3 separate regions of the Homo sapiens genome follow, and regions 2 and 3 are each linked to region 1. Evidence: promoter capture Hi-C in human tissues and cell types (Jung and others, 2019). All regions are on one chromosome and are shown on one strand. The core of a region is centred on a gene start or on the middle of the fragment in contact, and the rest is flanking DNA. Distances in the headings are between cores, read along the strand shown.

Region 1 (3,797 bases), core at 318-2,817:
GTAAAAAGTGCAATGAGAATAGTGAATGGCCATACAGGCTCTTTTAAATTGGCTTTGCTGGAGCTTTTTCATGAAGAATCTCAGGTTGGACTTTTGAAAGCCTCCCCAGGCTTTGAAGCCAACCCATGGATTCATGATCAGCCTGTGCCTGTAGTACCTGTATGAATTGGGTGAATTCCTCTCTTCTCAAGGTCCCAAATATCTTGAGGTTCCTGGGCTTGTCAGAAAGTGACATTCTTTCCTTACCACAATGTAGGGTCCAGCCCTACAGGGCCTATGGGTTTTTCTCTTCGTGTGCGGAGACGAGAGATTGTAGAAATAAAGACACAAGACAAGGAGATAGAAGAAAAGACAGCTGGGCCTGGGGGACCACTACCACCAAGACGCGAAGGCCCAAATGCCTGGCCGCGCTGATAATTATTGTATACAAGGCAAGAGGGCAGGGTAAGGAGCGTGAGTCATCTCCAATGTAAAGTCCAATGTAAGGGTAAGGTCACGCGAGTCATGTGTCCACCGAACGGGGCCATTCCCTGTTTGGTAGCCGAGGCGGAGAGAGAGAGGGGACAGCTTACGTCATTATTTCTTCTATGCATTTCTCGGAAAGATCAAAGACTTTAATACTTTCACTAATTCTGCTACTGCTATCTAGAAGGCGGGGCCAGGTGCACAGAGCGGAACATGAAAGTGGACCAGGATCGTGACCACTGAAGCACAGCATCACAGGGAGACATTTAGGCCTCCGGATGGCTGCGGGCAGGCCTGGCTGATGGCAGGCCTTCCACAGGAGGTGGTGAAGCAGAGTGTTCTCTAACTCCCTGGGGGAAAGGGAGACTCCCTTTCCCAGTCTGCTAAGTAACAGGTGCCTTCCCAGGCACTGGCGTTACTGCTAGACCAAGGAGCCCTCTAGTGGCCCTTGTGCGGGCTTGACAGAGGGCTCACATTCTTGCCTTCTGGTCACTTCTCACCGTGTCCCTTCAGCTCCTAATTCTGTATGGCCTGGTTTTCCTTAGGTAATAAGTATAGAACAGGTAATAATTATAGAACAGAGATTAATATAATAAAGAGTAATGCTACAAACTAATGATTGATAATATTCATATATAATCATGTCTATATTCTATTTCTAGTATAACTATTCTTATTCTAATTATTTTCTTTATTATGCTGGAAGAGCTCATGCCTTCCGTCTCTTGCCTCGGCACGTGGGTGGCTTGCCGCCCACACCACAAGGTCAGGAAGCTTGTAAGGGAACCATAAAAACCAGGTACCAGACCAATCTCTCCAAGGGACTTTTTACTGGCTCTATAAAATCAGCCTCAACTCCTCAAAACAGTCTGGCTGTATCTGAAAATATGCCAGTACAGTCAAAGCCTTGGTAAAATTACGAGTGTCTTCAGTGTGCCCAGTTACAAAAGAAAACATAGTCTTACTGAACTTATGCAAATAACTGTATTGCAATAAAATAAGAATCGTCACAAATAGTGTCCAAATTTTGGAGAAATCAGGTAGAGAGAAAGGTAAATATTTCAATTTTGCTCACAAAAGTATACTTTGCCCAATGGCTGTGAGTTATAAATAGCTCAAAAGAAAAAGTTTTCTTGTTTCTAGAAAACAAAATATAAAAAGAATCAGCAACGTTTCAAACAAACAAAAGTCATAAAAATCATTTTAGTCCCCTATCGGTTCTGTCCTACGTAATTAATTCTCGTTCTGCTTGATGTTGTGTTCACAATCTTCATGAATGCATCAGTTCTTTATTAGGGTTCTGGAAGTTTTTACTTAGTTCAGTGGTATGATCTCTAAAGTTACCAGAGCAGGGTGCGGTAGCTCGTGACTGTGGTCCCAGTGTTACCAGATGGAAAGTCTTGACTGTGAGTTGTCCAGGTTCTTGGCGTGTTGAACAAAGAACTGAACAAAATGCACAAAGCAACAGAAGATGAAAGCATAGATGTATTAAAGCAAAAGTACGCTCCACAGAGTGGGAGCAGGCTCAAGCAGCCCCAATTACAATATGCTTCAGGGTTTTTATTAAGCCAAAAGAATTTGGTAACACCATAGGTGCCCTGCAGAGGCTTCCAATTGGTTACACCCTGTAAGCGATTGGCCCGTGACCAATCAGAGGCTGAAGTGCAGACCCTGCCTGTGGTCAATCGGAGGCAGAAGTGGAGACTCCTGTCTTGTTATCACAGGAGTGAGGACGTGGCCTGCGTGCTGCCTAATCTTGCCTAGAACTGGCTGCCCCTGCTGTTTTTTGCTTATGCCTTAACCCTTTGTTACCCTAATTCCCTGTTCTCCTATCTTACCAGCACTTTGGAAGGACAAGGCAAAAGGATCACCTGAGGTCAGGAGTTTGAGACCAGCCTGAGTGACACAGAAAGACTGTACAAAAAATTTAAAAATTAGCCAAGCGTGATGGTGCATGCCTGTAGTCCCAGCTACTCGGGAGGCTAGGGTAGGAGGATTGCTGGAGCCCAGGAGGTTGAGGCTGCAGTGAGACATGTTCACACCACTGCAGTCCAGCCTGGGTGACAGAGTGAGACCCTGTCTCAAAAAACATACACAAGCAAACAAATATTTAATTAATAAATAAATTTACTGGAAACCTATACTCAAGAGTACTTTTCAGCATCGTTTTCTGTGAATTTCCTTAAGAAGCAAATTTTGGACTGTAGCTGATTATAAACTAATTTTTGAGAATCAAAGTAAAACAATAATTGTCTGTGGATGACAAAAAACTTAGACTAGCCATGGTTAAAGATGCAACTGACAAGGAAACTTGGTTATTTCTGTGACATACAAAAATTTAACAACATTATCACTGAAAACATATACCGAGACATGTCATTTTAAGAATCTCATACAATTTTGGAACACATATTAATAACACATTTATAGAAATATAACTCAAAGAAAGTTAAACACCAGCTGGGCGTGGTGGCTTATGCCTGTAATCCCAGCACTTTGGGAGGCCAAGGCGAGTGGATCACGAGGTCTGGTGTTCGAGACCAGCCTGATTAACATGGCAAAACCCCATCTCTACTAAAAATACAAAAATTAGCTGGGTGTGATGGGGTGCGCCTGTAATCCAGCTACTCAGAAGGCTGAGGCAGGAGAATTGCTTGAACCTGGGAGGTGGAGGTTGCAGTGAGCCGAGATTGTGCCACTGCACTCCAGTCTGGGCGACAGAACGAGACTCCATCTCAAAAAAAAGAAAGTTAAACACCATTTCTTATTTGACAATGCTCCGTATATGATTTTAACATACCAAATAAGCCCAGTATTTCTCTCTTGGACTTCCAAGGGCTCCTATTTCTTGTGTCCAAGATAGTTCAGATAAAAAAAGACTTAATTAACTTTGGGAAATATGTCAAAAATTTTTCTAAATTTGAAATTTAAATTAGGTGCCCAGGTGTGGTGGCTCACCCCTGTAATCCCTGCACCTTGGGAGGCTGAGGCGGGTGGATCACTTGAGGTCAGGAGTTCAAAACCAGCCTGGCCAACATGGTGAAACCCCGCCTCTACCAAAAATACAAAAATTAGCCAGCCATGTTGGTGTGCACCTGTAGTCCCAGCTACCAAGAGGCTGAAACAGGAGAATCATTTGAACCCAGGAGGCAGAAGTAGCAGTGAGCTGAGATCACGCCACTGCACTCCAGCCTGGGCAACAGAGTGAAACAACTGTCTCAAAAAAAACAAAAATTTTGAAATTTAATTTTTGGAAGTATGTCAAATATTAAAGGTTCAAAACACTTGATATTAAAATAAGTAAGGTTTGGCCGGGCACAGTGGCTCACGCC
Region 2 (4,103 bases), core at 1,604-4,103, 79 kb before region 1:
GCTTAGGAGTTCGAGACCAACCTAGGTAAGATGGTGAAACCCTGTCTCTATAATATTAGGTTGGTTCAAAAGTAACCGCTGTTTTTGCCATTGAAAGTAATGGCAAAAACTGCAATTACTTTTGTACCAATCTAATTTTTTAAAAATTAATTAATTAAAAAAAATTGGAAGGCATAGATTTCACTCGGCAAGGCAGGAAATCTTGTAACTGCTCTATACTGTGGCTCTGCCGACCGCCCGGCACTGCTCCAGCAGATGCAAACTGCCCGAGATTTTGATGAATTCACTGAAGGAAATAAAGACATTGTGTTTAAAAACACAGCAGAAAGGTTGGGTGTGGTGGCTTATGCCTGTAATCTCAGCACTTTAGGAGGCTGAAGGGGGTGGATCACTTGAGCTCAGGAGTTTGAGACCAGACTGGACAACATAGCAAGACCCCATCTCAAAAAAAAAATTAGCTGGGTGCGTGCCTGTAGTTTCAGCTACTTGGGAGGCTGAGATGGGAGGACTGCTTGAACCTGGAAGTTGGAGGTTGCAGTGAGCCACAGTCGAGCCACTGCACTCCAGCCTGGGTGACAGAGCCGGACCTTGTCTCAAAATTAAAAAAAAAAAAAACCCACTGCAGAAGACCTTCAGAATTGCTTGCCTCTAGAAACCATGCTTTCCTCAGAACATCTAACCCTTCAAAAACTACAGCAGCAGCCAGAACCCACCATTCACGCTGACGCATTCCTTTGTGATAAAGACTTCATTGATTCATTATGTGACAAAGGGAAAATGAGCAGAAACTACTGGGTGGTTCACACCAAACAGAACCTTTAGACCGATTGCTCGTTCCTTCTCCCTCATGGAATTGAAGTTCATTTATCTTCATGCACTCCCTGATCAATCAGGAAAGGCTGTGGCTGACGTCAGCTCCAGGCTCAGCACAGTCTTTATGGGGTGATCTTATAGCTTAGCAGTGCAACCCTGTGGAGTAGAACTGAACGGAGACTTTTGCCAGTTGCAGGAAATGGTCATTAAAAAATACCAGTTTATTCACAGAATAAAGGTGCTTCATGCAGACATCTGTCCCCAGGGTTTCTTCTGCAAAATGCTGATGCTGCTATCATGAATAATGTCTTCAAATATTCTCTTAATGAGGCAGAACAAGCCGGAGCTGGGAATACATTTGTCATAATGTAAGGAAGCAGATCATCATCAGTGACAGTGCCAAGTCTTGAAGATTCTCTCCTGGGTCTTCAGACTAATACACATTTATCTCCCTGGGTTGAAGAAGTACTGTGGGACTATGATGTATACCCACAAAAGGATATTGACAAAGAAGCTCTTTATTTATTTATTTATTTATTTATTTATTTATTTATTTATTTATTTTCTTTTGAGACAAGGTCTCACTGTGTTGTCTAGCCTGGAATGCAGCCATACGATAACGGCTCACTGTACTCACGGTACGATTACCTCCAACTCCCCGTGCTCAAGTGATTCTCCCGCCTCAGCCTCCTGAGTAGCTGGGGCCACAGCTGTGTGTGCCACCACCTGGCTAATTTTTTTTTTTTTTTTTTTTTGAGACAGAGTTTCGCTCTTGTCGCCCAGGCTGTAGTGCAATGGCATGATCTCGGCTCACTGCAACCTCTGCCTCATGCCTCAGCCTCCCAAGTAGCTGGGATTACAGGCACCCACCACCATGCCTGGATAAATTTTGTATTTTTAGTACAGACGGGGTTTTGCCATGTTGCCCAGGCTGGTCTTACACTCCTGACATCAGGTGATCCACTCGCCTCAGCCTCCCAAAGTGCTGGGATTATAGGTGTGAGCCACCGCGCCCACCCTAATTTTTTTTTTTTTTTTGGTAGAGACAGGGTCTCCCTATGTTGCCCAGGCTGGTCTTGAACACCTAGGCTCAAGCAATCTGCCCCCCTTGGCCTCCCAAAGTGTTGGGGTTACAGGTGTGAGCCACTGCACCCAGCTGACAAAGAAGCTCTTGAACAAATTCATTTAATGAGATTCTCTAGCACTAAAATAGTCCTACCTCATTGTAATGTTTTGTAGAGTATCTTATAAAACAATGAAAAAAAACCAGTATTTTAATACATATTTTTCTGTATATTTCCTTCTAGCCTTTGTACATATGATCACATATTTGTAAAAAGTTGTATGTATATATATACAACTTTACCCGCTTTGTGTGATGATATGACAAAAACATTTATCTGAAAAAAGTATTTTTTTCATCAAATGGCAGAGCTCCTGTTTCTGGTAACCCGGGGTATGGCAAGTAGGGGCTCTGGGAGATGGAGCAGCTCAGCCTCCTGTGAAAAATTCTGTTTCTCTAAAAAAGAACAAATTCTCATGCTGGGCGCGGTGGCTCACGCCTGTAATCTCAGCACTTTGGGAGGCCGAGGCGGGCGGATCACGAGGTCAAGAGATCGAGACCATCCTGGCTAACACGGTGAAACCCCGTCTCTACTAAAAATGCAAAAAATTAGCCGGGCGTGGTGGCGGGCGCCTGTGGTCCCAGCTACTCAGGAAGCTGAGGCAGGAGAATGGCGTGAACCCGGGAGGTGGAGCTTGCAGTGAGCCGAGATCGCGCCACTGCACCCCAGCTTGGGTGACAGAGCCAGACTCTGTCTCAAAAAAAAAAAAACGAATTCCCAAAACTAGTCCCACTGTTGTCTACCCAGATCCGGGATCCGGGTTGCCCTTGGCCTGGCCAGAGATGCCTCTCAATCCCCCACGGCACGTAGAGCCAGACAGAAACCGAAAGCAGAGGTGCCCTGCGCTGAAGTCTAGAGATCCCACTGCTAGGTCCAAAGAATTTACCCTTTCAGTCAACCCACGGGGCAAAGTCCACTTTCTTCCCTGAAGGAGCAGCACAGAACAAAAGCTCCAGGCAGCTGCTTCCGCTGTTTCGGGGGTAGGGCGGAGTGACAGCCCCACGGGCCACGCAGCAAGCAGAAGATCCCCGGGAGTCACCCTCAACCCTCTGGGGCCACGTGGGTGAGTTCGCCCGGGGAAGGTGCCGCGGCCCACTGCTTTACCTTAGTGAGCCTCAAGAAGTTAGGATCAGAATCCCAGTCGGCCCCATCTGGGTCGCCAGAGTTTTGTTACCCACACAACGGGTGGGCTCAGTTGCTTGGCGGGTGTTAACTAAAGAGGATTTAATAGGGGATTTTATTTCTTGCAACAAGTAAGGAGAACACCTAGACAGCTCCCAAAGCAGTGTCTCCCCGAGCTGAGGGCTGGGGCAGGTTTTATAAGCATAGGGTAATGAGGCGTGATCTGATTGCATCTTGCAATGAGGTGATGCTGGGAGGCATGATCTAATTGGATGCTGACACAGGGGGGAACCACAGCTCTGACCCCTCTCTGGGTCTCAGTTTCCCCAACTGCAGTGAGGAAATTGGCCCCCGTGATGATGCCCATGACATCACCATCCTCTGCCCTCACTCATGCTGGGGTCTCCATGTGCCCATTTTCAAGCTTGTGCCCGCCCTTTGTTCCTCACTCCCCACAGCTGCCCTTGGCCAGGACTTTCACAGGGTGGAGCCAAGGCCCAGAGAGGGCACTGAATCTCTCCAGGTCACACAGCCTGTCAGGGAGGTGGGGCCAGAGCCAGGTCACACGTGTGCACACAACACACACACACGCACACATGCTCACGCACATGCACGCACACACGCTCTCAAGCACATGCACACATGCACACACATGCACACACACTCTCATGCACACACGCACACATGTACACACACATGCATGCACACATGCACACAATACTCTCATGCACATGCACACACGTACACACGCACACATGCATGCTGTCACACATGCGCACACACGCACACATGCTCTCATGCACACACGCACACATGTACACATACATGCACACATGCACACAATACTCATGCACATGCACACACATGTACACACGCACGCACACACGCATGCTGTCACGTACACATGTGAGTGCACACACGCACACACATGCTCTCATGCACACGCACACATGTACAGATGCACACATGCATGCACACACATGCACACACGCGCACACACTGCCAGGACTGGGGGCTGCTGTTTCTGAGGGTTCCTGGACCCCG
Region 3 (3,933 bases), core at 700-3,199, 89 kb after region 1:
CTCCGAGCAAAAAAGGAATTGAATCTGGCATGGGCTCGGCTGCTGGGACGAGAACAGACCACAGAGGGACAAAAGAGGCAGGAGAGTTAGAGGTCGCTGCAGTAACCCAGGCTGGAGATGAGGATGGCCTGGACCCAAGCAGTGATGGCAGAAGTGGTGAGAACTCAGATCCTGGCTGGATATTGAGGATGTGATGTTGGATGTGAGACTGGGAGGACCACAGAGATGCTAAGGTTTTTGCCCTGAACAACGGGAAGGTTGTTGGTTCCCCTGACACGGAGAAGCCTCAGGTGGAGCAGGTTAAGTGTGAGTTGCCAACCAGGCTTCCAGGTGGATATGGTGAGTAGGGAGCTATATATCAGGTTTAAGAGACAGTTAATGACTGGAGAGCTGCATCTGGGAGTAATCCGGGCAGGGAGAGTTTTTAGAGATAACACTGGGGGTGGGTGCAGAGAAAAGAGGTTTGGAGATTGAACTCTCGACAGGATATGGTTAGAGGAGCCCACGCTCTTAACTGCCGCACCATGCTGCATCTCTGAAGTCAGTTTCCACATCGGTAAAACGGAATCAACAACAGTACCTATCTCACATTGTAGGAAATAAACGTGTGAAGCATGTAGCACAATGTTCGAATAGTGAGCACTCAATCAGTGCTGGCGATTGGTTATTTAACACCACCTGTTTCTGATCTTGGGGTGCCATTGTTCACATCTCTCCTTCTGATGTCTGTTCCATCCAGGATCCCCCTTGCCAGCCCCTTCTTCCAACGCCACCAACCCCCCAGCACATGGGGGCATGAACCCACACCACACATCCTGTCTCTTCTTAGAGAAGATATCTTTTCATACAGCGGATCACTCCAGCCATGCAGCTCCCCTCTGCTCTCAGGGCACTTATACTGCACTGGGCTAGGATGCTTAGCTGCCCGATTCGGCACGGTGCTGGCCAGGGGGCATGTGCTCATTTGCTCAATGTGCATGTCCTGCCTGACTGCTCTGCTGGGCACAGGGGCTGCCCCTGGGAGGTTCCCTACTCTGCAAACAAGTGGCAGCTGGGAAAAGCACTCCGGGAGGAGGCAACTACAGGAGAAGCAGGGAAGCCTGGAGTTGTAGGTTGGGGGAGAAGCGGGCAGAGGGGCTGGATCTGGGGGCCTGGCAAAAAGGAGAAAAGTGGGAGGTTCTTTACTTCCCAACCCTCATCTGTCCCAACAAGCCCCTAGTGCAGCAGGAAGGCTGCTAAAGAGTCCCTGTCTGGGAGACCTGACCTCTGGGCCCGTTCTCCGGCTTTGCACGTCCCAGGGTCTTGGTTTTCCACTCTAAACAGCGGCAGTTGGTCTAAGTGTTTTCAGAAGGCCCTTCCATCTACAAAGGATCATGAGCCTTGAAACCCAGATACCCGAGGACCACTCCCGGCCCTGGGTTTCCTCCAGCGTGGGGTCTGCCCAAGCACTGAGATCAACCCCCAACCCCAACCCGCTTGTGATGACTGACGGCCTCCCCCACCAATGCTGCTACAAGGCCGAGCCAGGGGGCGGGGCAGACAGGCCCGAATTCACCCCCTACTTAAATTCAGCCCAATCAGCGTCGAGTTCTGCATGTGAGCGGTAGGGGCAGTGGACGCTGCCCTCTGGGCATGCGCAACCTCTCGCCTAAGGCCTCCTCCCGCCTCGCATGCGCACCACGCCGCAGAGGGGGAGAAGGGTAGGGTAGACACGAACCTTGGTCCCATCTTGAAAGTCCGGGAGCTCTCCTCGGCCTTCCTGTATCACACGTTTTTGGATCCCGTCCTCCCGGAGTCTTGCGATGATATCCGCCATCCTCCTTCCCCGCTGCTCCCTTTCGGCAACTTCCGGACTCGCTCGGTAGCTTCCGGACTTGCTTCGGCAACTCCTAGCACCTCGGCAGCTTCCGAGCTAGCGCCATTTTGGTTGAGGGCAGAAGCCAAAAGGGACTGAGCGTGGAAACGGATGGTGATTGGTTCTCTGCGCTGGGGCTGAGCGCGCGCGTCTGCTCGGGGGCGGAGCCTAGGAATGTCTCGGGGCTGGACCCCAGCCTGTCAAGGAGGAAGGGCCGGGGTCCGCGGGCCGGGCGGGACGAGGACGTCCCTAACAATTGTCATTGAATTGATTGGGACTGCGGCCGTGTGGCACTTTGTTTGAAGTTGTGGATGGAATATAACAGCACTGCAGAGTTAGGAAAATGAAAAAAAAAAAAAACACCCGTAAGCCACACCCTCAAAGTGTTATGATTTTTGTGTATTTTCTTCCGGCTTTTTCTCTTTCGCATATCTAGTATGATTGTCGGGACTCTTGCATCCTGGATCTTCCTCTTTCAAAAAATAAAAAGAGGAAGAGGGAAAGAAAGGTGGAGAAGGAGACCAAGAGAGCCCATTGCGGGGTCGGAAATGAGTCATAGTTGTGCCCAATTAATATTAGGGAATAATCGATGAATGATAGAAATGAGGTACTTTAGCGCCGGGCGCGGTGGCCCTGTAACCCCACCACTTTGGGAGGCCGAGGCGAGAGGATCGCTTGAGCCCAGGAGTTCGAGGCTGCAGTGGGCCGTGTTCGTGCCACTGCACTCCAGGCTAGCCGACAGAGCGAGATGCTGTCTCAAAACAAAACAAAAAAAAAAAATTAAATTAAAAGAAAAGAGAAATGAGGTACTTTGGGGCTAAAACAACTTTTGTTTTTCTTTTTTTGAGACGGAGTCTCGCTCTGTCACCCACGCTGGAGTGCAGTGGCACAATTTCAGCTCACTGCAAGCTCTGCCTCCCGGGTTCACGCCATTCTCCTGCCTCAGCCTCCCGAGCAGCTGGGACTACAGGCGCCCGCCACCATGCCCGGCTAATTTTTTGTATTTTTAGTAGAGACAGGGTTTCACCGTGTTAGCCAGGATGGTCTCAATCTCCGGACCTCGTGATCCGCCCACCTCGGCCTCCCAAAGTGCTGGGATTACAGGCGTGAGCCACAGCGCCCAGCTGATATGAAACATTCTAAATAAAATACTAGGCTAATTGAATTCACTAATGTCATGTAAAAATGCATCAGTATGGGGCAGGTGTGGTGGCTTATGCCTCTAATACCAGCACTTTGGGAGGCCAAGGCAAGTGGATCTCCTGGATCTCCTTGAGCTCACAAGTTCAAGACCAGCCTGGACAACATGGCAAAATACCATCTTCACCAAAAATACAAAAAATTAGGTGGTGTGGTGGTGCACGCCTGTGGTCCCAGCTACTCAGCAGGCTGAGGCTGGAGGATTGCTTGAGCCCAGGAGATGGAGGTTGTAGTGAGCCAAGATCGCACCACTGCACTCCAGCCTGGGTGATAGAGTGAGACCCCATCTCAAAAAAAAAAAAAAAGCATCAATATGCTAAGTGAAATAACAGTACCAGTCACATACAGGAAAATACTGTATTATTCTACTTATGTAAGGTACCTAGAGTAGTCAGATTCACAAAGACAGAAAGCAGGGCCGGGCGCGGTGGCTCACACCTGTAATCCCAGCACTTTTGGAGGCCAAGGCAGGCAGATCACCTGAGGTCAGGAGTTTGAGACCAGCCTGGCCAACATGGAGAAACCCCATCTCTACGAAAAATACAAAAATTAGCTGGGTATGGTGGCACGTGCCTGTAATCCCAGCTACTCGGGAGGCTAAGGCAGGAGAATCGCTTGAACCCAGGAGGCAGAAGTTGCATTGAACCAAGATCGCGCCACTGCACTCCAGCCTGGGCGACAGAGCAAGACTCCATCTCAAAAAAAAAAAAAAATGACAGCAGAATGGTGATTGCCAAGGGCTGGGGGCAGGGGGGTGGGAAATGGAGACTTGTTCTTTGATGAGTGTAGAATTTCTGTTTTGAAAGACGAAACTGTTCTGGAAATTGGTTGCATAACAGTGTGCATATACTTAACGCCACTGAGTATACACTTCAAAA

Evidence for each region. Contacts are between HindIII fragments. The study calls those that stand out against the background at their distance.
Region 2: a contact is called between the fragment with the promoter of ACY3 here and a fragment that was not itself captured in region 1, in 2 of the 25 tissues and cell types used here (aorta and lymphoblastoid cells).
Region 3: the fragment with the promoter of AIP here is called in contact with a fragment that was not itself captured in region 1 in 4 of the 25 tissues and cell types used here (lymphoblastoid cells, mesendoderm cells, ovary and 1 more).

What each region holds. Positions count from the first base shown.
Region 1 is chr11:67,569,961-67,573,757 of GRCh38, reverse strand. No RefSeq gene overlaps it. Among named protein-coding and RNA genes, the nearest start is that of GSTP1, 12 kb to the left of the region's middle. The HindIII fragment of the contact is 7,251 bases long and covers 1-3,797 here.
Region 2 is chr11:67,649,480-67,653,582 of GRCh38, reverse strand. ACY3 (aminoacylase 3) reads left to right here and starts at 2,853. Exons shown (of 8, transcript NM_080658.2): 1 at 2,853-3,000. RefSeq lists enhancers at 2,572-2,631, 2,702-2,781. The HindIII fragment of the contact is 14,698 bases long and covers 1-4,103 here.
Region 3 is chr11:67,481,042-67,484,974 of GRCh38, reverse strand. It overlaps AIP (AHR interacting HSP90 co-chaperone), which reads right to left and starts at 1,949. Exons shown (of 6, transcript NM_003977.4): 1 at 1,718-1,949. The coding sequence starts at 1,816. RefSeq lists an enhancer at 2,048-2,107. The HindIII fragment of the contact is 17,225 bases long and covers 1-2,447 here.